2 separate regions of the Homo sapiens genome follow, and region 2 is linked to region 1. The links are contacts of gene promoters, found by promoter capture Hi-C in human tissues and cell types (Jung and others, 2019). All regions are on one chromosome and are shown on one strand. The core of a region is centred on a gene start or on the middle of the fragment in contact, and the rest is flanking DNA. Distances in the headings are between cores, read along the strand shown.

The links. The method cuts DNA at HindIII sites, captures the fragments that hold promoters and counts their contacts. A contact is called where the count stands out against the background at its distance.
Region 2: a fragment that was not itself captured here is called in contact with the fragment with the promoter of RNF185 in region 1 in 1 of the 25 tissues and cell types used here (lymphoblastoid cells).

The regions. Positions count from the first base shown.
Region 1 is chr22:31,158,275-31,161,737 of GRCh38, forward strand. It overlaps RNF185 (ring finger protein 185), which reads left to right and starts at 1,908. Exons shown (of 7, transcript NM_152267.4): 1 at 1,908-2,029. It overlaps MIR3928 (microRNA 3928), which reads right to left and starts at 1,845; the gene lies at 1,788-1,845. The HindIII fragment of the contact is 14,525 bases long and covers 1-3,463 here.
Region 2 is chr22:30,771,079-30,774,534 of GRCh38, forward strand. All of the region lies in intron 2 of OSBP2 (oxysterol binding protein 2), which reads left to right. Among named protein-coding and RNA genes, the nearest start is that of MIR3200, 41 kb to the left of the region's middle. RefSeq lists an enhancer at 1,588-2,087. The HindIII fragment of the contact is 9,073 bases long and covers 1-3,456 here.

The DNA.
Region 1 (3,463 bases), core at 658-3,157:
CAGGGGCTGTTTTTCTCTTAGCGCTTGGTTTCAAATCCAGGTTTGTGTGACTGGAAACATCCCTTGTATTACTTCTTGATCACAGGAACTTGCAAAGGTGGCTGGCAGACTAGGACTTTCATCTATGAGCTTATTTCATCTACTATTTTTTATTTTTTTTTCTGAGATGGAGTTTCACTCTTGTCGCCCAGGCTGGAGTGCAATGGCACGATCTTGGCTCACTATAACCTCTGTCTCCTGGGTTCAGGCAATTCTCCAGCCTCAGCCTCCCAAGTAGCCGGGATTACAGGTGCCCGCCACCACGCCTGGCTAATTTTTGTATTTTTAGTAGAGATGAGTTTCACCATGTTGGCCAGGCTGGTCTCGAACTCCTAACCTCAGGTGATCTGCCTGCCTCGACCTCCCAAAGTGCTGGTATTATAGGCGTGAGCCACCGCGCCGGCCTTTATCTACTATGTTCACCTCCTACTCAGGTCCGATCCCTAACCGTTCCTGGGATAACTGTAGGTACTTAATAAATGCTTGTTGAATGAATGAAGATGGCTGTCAAGAACTCCAATGACTGCTTGAGTGCAAATCACAAGCTCCATCACCTATCAGTATGTGATTTGATACAATATGTATTAACAGCTAATCCACAATCCATATTCAAATTTCATTACTTGTCCCAATATTGTCCATTACAACTATTCCACCACCACCACTACCCCAGTCCAGGGTCCTATTTAGAATCACACACCACATTTTGTTGTCATGCTTCTTTAGTCTCCTTTAAACTGGAACAGTTCCTCAGCTTTTCTCTGTTTTTCATGACAATGAGTTATTTTGTAGACAGTGTCCTTCATTTGGGGTTCTCTAGCACTTCCTCATGAGATGTGTACGGTGCACTTTTGACAGAAATACCACAGATGTGTTCTCAGTGCATTTTATTAGGAGGCCCTTGATCTGACCCATTAACTAGTGGTGTTAACTTTGATCACTTTGATCTGTTTGTTCTGCTAGGTTAAACCTCTGTAACATCACCATTTTCCCTTTGTAATCAATAGCTAATTTATGGGAGACACTTTTGCTGTTGTAAACATCCCGTTTCTCTAGTTTTACCACACATTATTGATTTCCTAATTCCACCATGTTTATTAGCTAGCATTCTACTAAAAGGAAGACTTTCCCTTCACCCATTAATATGCTCACTTCTTTATGTTTGTAAAGACTCATGGATTACTATTTTATTCAATTAGTTATACTCTATTACTATCACTCCATATTTTGATTCTGAAATTGCCCTGACTTGGCCAGTAAGATCTCCTTAAAGACAGCTCCTGTGTTCTTTGACACATTCCCATGATTCTTATTACCATCATCCTTATATTCTGGTGTAACAAGATGTTCCAAGTTTATCTGGTACTTTCCGGAATGAGTTAGTTCTTTCTCTCTCTCTTTTTTTTTTTTTTTTTTGACGGAGTCTCACTCTGACGCCCAGGCTAGAGTGCAGTGGTGCGATCTCAGCTCACTGCAACCTCCGCCTCCCGGGTTCAAGCGATTATCCTGCCTCAGCCTCCCGAGTAGCTGGGATTACAGGTGTGCGCCACCACGACCGGCTACTTTTTGTATTTTGAGTACAGAGGGGTTTCACCATTTTGGCCAGGCTGGTCTCGAACTCCTGACCTCAAGTGATCCATCCGCCGCGGCCTCCCAAACTGCTGGAATTACAGGTGGGAGCCACCGCGCCCGGCCGGAATCAGTTTTTTTCTTTTAGGAGCCCCGAACCCAAAGCTCTTTGAAAAGCTGCCGAAGCTCCAAGGTTCCTCCGCTTCCTGCCCGCAGGCGGAACCTTAGAGCTTCAGCCATGGAAATTAACCTCTTCCGGTTGGGGCCGGAAGTCCCTCCGAGAGGGGCGGCTCCGCGTCATGTGACTGGAGTCCGCGTAGGAGGGGTCGGAGGTCTTACCCAACAGATTGACGCGGCGTTAGTATTGGCCGTGTACCCGAAAAACTGATTGACTGGGCTGGCGTTAACTGTGCGGAGGCAGGTATGTGAGGGGCTGGGGTTGGGGCGGGGGCGCCAAAGTTTAGGGACGGGGGCGGGAGACCCGGGTCCGCCTTCCCAGGACACACGGGCTTGAACATCTGAGCCCAGGGGCCCAGAGACAGCAAGACCGGTCGTGTCTGTCCCCGAAAAGAGGACGAGCTGGCGTTGTGGTTCTGCGTCCCATGAATACAGATTGGGGAAACTGAGGCCTTGCGAAAGAGAAGGGCTCCCACAAGCTCTCCTTTCGAGGCATGGGCACTGATTCCCATTCTATCCCCCGTGCGAGACCGCCTCTATCATCTGGGAGTGCATTTCACGAGTTTGCCCTGAGTGGAGAAGCAGAGGCCGGGGAGCGCGGTGAACAGAGTTGGGCTGAAAGTAAGAGACCTGGATTCGAGACTTCGCCACCGACAGACAATTGTGCGTTCTGGGCCAAATCTCTTCCCTGTGCTGGGCCTCAGTTTTCTCGTCTCTAAAACGGGGCAGTGTTTTTCAAAATATGGTTCTTACACCATCTGCTTTGTAATTCTCTGAGATGCCGGCTTTACAGCGCGGGACTCAATTCAGACTTCTGGTTTAGAATCTGAACTTATGCGTAGGGGGGTCCTGTATATACTAATGTTTGAAGCTCATTGATTTTAAGTGCTTTCCTGCTGTGAGCACTAGATATCCATTCTTCGCTTTGAGGCAGCTGGTGCCAGTTCAGGAACTTTGAAAGAACTGGAATGGTTAGCTCAGTAAAGAGAGCACTGGAAGGGAATTAACTTTTTAAAAATTGAAAATACTGTTACGGCAAAGAGGGCTTCCACTTCATCTTTAGGCTAAAAGAGGCAGAACTAGGACTAACAGGTGAATTCTACAGGAAGGCAAGATTTTTGCTTAATAGAAGAACTTAAATGGAAGAATCGTCAGAGGTGACCACCGATGGAGTGAATGGATTGCCTCCGTGCCTCCTTTCGAGGGAGGTATATAGGTATTAGATGAAGGTCCTTTCCAACTTGAAAGTCTGTGATTCCAAGGAGTTGTTCTGCATCTTTCTGGTGCTGACTCTGCTCTCAAGGCAAATGTGACTTTTTTCTTCTCTTTTGACACTTCCATCACTTTAGCCTACATCTCCTGTAAATAAGGCCAATGCATCTGACCTTACATAATCTCTTCCTGGTTGTCCTGTGCACCATCCTTCTTTTCAAGGACTTTGGAATGACCCAATATCTGATAGAGGCACCTTAAATGTTTATTGAATGAATAAGTAAACTGGGTCCCACCCCATGGGTTAGTAGCTTTTTTCTAAGAACAAGTTGGAAATGCCTCTGAAGATTTTATGTTTGACCAGGAGAAGCCAGTGAACTCTGAATCACAAAATTGAGGACTCTCAGTTGAAAGCACCCCTTGAGGTTGTTCAGACCAGCCTTCTCTTCCCTGGAACATAATCCCT
Region 2 (3,456 bases), core at 676-3,175, 390 kb before region 1:
CTGTCCCCGTTGCTGGCTCTTCCTGAGACTTGGTCTCTTCCAAGAAGCCTTCCATGACCACCTCTAGTCCTCTCCCTGCCATCGGCAGGAGGGCAGGCAAAAGTCGTTTGGGCTCCATGTCCACTGAGGCTGCCCCCTTACCTGTGTCTAGCCCAGGCCAAGGAACCATGGTGGGCTCAGACCCTCCTCTGGAGGGAGGCCAGGCTGACAGGCAGGCATGACAACCATAGATTGTGGAAGAGAAACTTTGGAAGACAAGGCAAGTTGCTGAGGGCACAGGCAGGAATCATAGAAGCTTCCAGAGGCTCCAGAGGGGCAACCTGGGGTGCTGGGGAGGGCCTGATGAGCACAGGAAGGGCTGAGTCCAGTGGAGGCTGGCTCTTGGCAGCACAGTGGCGGCCCCTGCCCATGTATGGCACACCTGAACACAGTGGCACCTGCAGCCCAAGGCTTCCATGTGGTTCCAGAGCCTTGGGCTGGTGTGAGCTACTGTACTTCTCTGTAGGGGCCACCTGCCAGTGGGGGTGCCAATAGGTGGGCTCCAGGCTGTCTTCATTTGTCAGCCTAGGTTGCTTCCCTTGTTCTGTGGCCAGTGGTCTTTGGTGAAGGATATCTGTTTGCAACATGAGATCCATCCACCGCAGATGATTTGAAAACCATTGGTCCAGAGCTTCCACCTGAATCAGGATTAGCTATAGAAACTGAGGCTGAGCTTGAAGGTGGGAAGGGCTCAGGCTTGGGCTCAGGCTGTGGCAAGAGGCAGGACCTGGCTGTTTCATGATCTCCCTGCTCTCCACGGCTTGGAGCCAGCTCTCCTTCCATGGAAAGGACAGAGGCTGTGCTTGTCCACAGGCCTCAATGCCTAGACACAGAAGGAACATTCTCTCTAGCCCCCAGATGTTTGGTGTGCACAGTGCCACATCAGTAGCCTGCCTTAGTCCAGGTGACAGCAGAGAAGGGTATAAGGGCCATCAGACAGCCGCAAGCCAGAGAATCAGGCCAGAGACAAGCCCCTGCGGCAGGCTCTGCTCTGACCTTGCAGGCTGGAGTTGGCGATTCACTGTGGCCTCAGGCACTGCCCTCTGGAGAGCCTGGATGGATCCTGCAAGTTGGGACTCCCGTGGGTGAGCTCTGGTTTTAGTGACTGAGTGGTGGGTTTTCCTTCCCCCACAGCAGCCACCTTACATTTTTCTTCAGAAGATGGTCAGAAACACTTAGCTCAGAAATGAGATAACCTCTCCTGAGGAATGAGGGTATTCATTTTAATTAGGCTCTTGAGTCTTGGTACCGTGCCTGTCGTGGAAGACCTGCAGCCACAAATGAGCCCATCTTTCCTTGTCTCTGTTAAGCACCAGAAGCAGGGAAGCCAGGCTGGCCCGTGGGATGTCTTGTAATGAATGAGGCAGCTCTGTGTCATAGAGAACTCCTGTGCAGAGATGTTTTGTGAGCTCAGCCAGAAGTGTCACCTTCAGAGCCTGGCCACAGAAGCCCTCAAGTCCTACCTGTCCTAGGAGCAGCCCTGCTGGCTCTGGGCGAGCCTGGGACTGGTTAGGCCTGGCTTTGAGGACACTCTGAGGTCTGGGTTTCCCTCTCCTCAGCTGAGTAATGTCCTCTGCCTCTCTTGGCCTCAGCACCTCGGCTGTTAGCTGGCATGAGCCCCATGCCCTGTGAGGTGTCACATACCACACGGGGAACGGCTGCTCTTGTTAAACGCATTTTTTTTTTTTTTTTTGAGATGGAGTCTCGCTCTGTTGCCCAGGCTGGAGTGCAGTGGCGTGGTCTTGGCTCACTGTAACCTCCGTCTCCTGGGTTCAAGCAATTCTCCTGCCTCAGCCTTCCGAGTAGCTGGGATTACAGGCCGCCTGCCACCATGCCCGGCTAATTTTTGTATTTTTATTAGAGACAGGGTTTCACCATGTTGGCCAGGCTGGTATCAAAATCCTGACCTTGTGATCCACCTGCCTTGGCCTCCCAAAGTGCTGGGATTACAGGCATGAGCCACTGAGCCCAGCCTGTTAAACACGATTTTTTTTTTTTTTTTGAGATGGAGTTTCACTCTTGTTGCCCAAGCTGGAGTACAATGTCATGATCTTGGCTCACTGCAACCTCCACCTCCTGGGTTCAAGCAATTCTTCTGCCTCAGCCTCCTGAGTAGCTGGGCTTACAGGTATGTGCCTGGTCCCGAACTCCTGACCTCAGGTGATCCGCCTAACTAGGCCTCCCAAAGTGCTGGGATTACAGGCGTGAGCCACCGTGCCTGGCCTCTTAAATGCCTTTTTATCCAGGACACCCTCCTGACTCCCCAGCCCAGGTCAGCTTCCCACGTAGTGGAAAGAGTGCTATACAACTCCTTCATAGCACCCACCCTAGTTGCACTGATTATTCACCTGTACAGTTATTTAGTGTTTGACTTCCCTGATAATCCATAGCAACAGGAGGGTGGGGATTGTGACAACTGGCTTGCCACTGAATGCCCAGTGCCTACCACCCTGCTTGTCTCAGAGTAGACATGCTCGAATTATTTGTTGGAGGAATGGGGGAGGGAAGGAGGGAGAGAGAGACTGCATGAATGAATGAGTGTGAGAAGTGGGCGCTGGTGCTCTGGCCAGACACAGTGGTCACTTTGGTCCACAGGCTCTGGGTGTAGAGGCTCTGGGCCACATGGATAAGCAGTCTCGGGGTCCTCACAGAGCCATCTTGGAAAAGCAAGTCCTTCCAAAGGATATCACCGAGTGTGGGAGGCCATGAGGGACTTCAAGGTGACTCCAGAGAGCTAAGCTAGAGAGGCACTCCAGCAGGGGCAGTGGAGTCCTTAGCAAGGGGCAGTCCGGTGGCAGTCACCATATTAGCCCTCCAGCTGCTGCCATTTGTGTGAAGCGCAGTGGGGGCCAGGGATGCTTGGCTGTTGTAATAACACAGGTGTCTGAGTTTGTACCTATGCAAGATCAATGCTTAATGGTCTTCCTCTCCCGAGTGGAGGACCAGTGTCATGGGTGGTCAGGACAGTCCTGACCACCAATGAGAGGTGGCTCATAAGAGAGAGGAGGCAAGGCTTGGACTCCCCAGGGGGGCTGGGCCCTTCCTTGGCTACGTAGCTGTGGTACCTGGGCAAGCCCACCAACTCCTCCAAGCTCTAGCTGCCTTGTCTCTAAAATAAGGATAGTTCCAGCCCTAGCCTACCTGACATCCACTGCGGGGACAAATGAGTGTGTGCTGGCGAAAGCCTTGCCTAGGATCACCATTGGAGTTGTTGTCATTTATAGGGGTAGCCAACAATAAAGTTGGGCCCTTCTCAACTCCTCTGTGAGGTGACGGTCATTGTGGAGAGCATTGTCATTGGAGTTAAGTGCCCAGGCCTCAAGCTAGCCAGTGGTTTGTGTTATGAATGCGCCACCACCTTGGGGCCCTTCAGTCAGAATGCTAGGAGCAAAAGGTGTGTCCCTAAACATTTCTGCC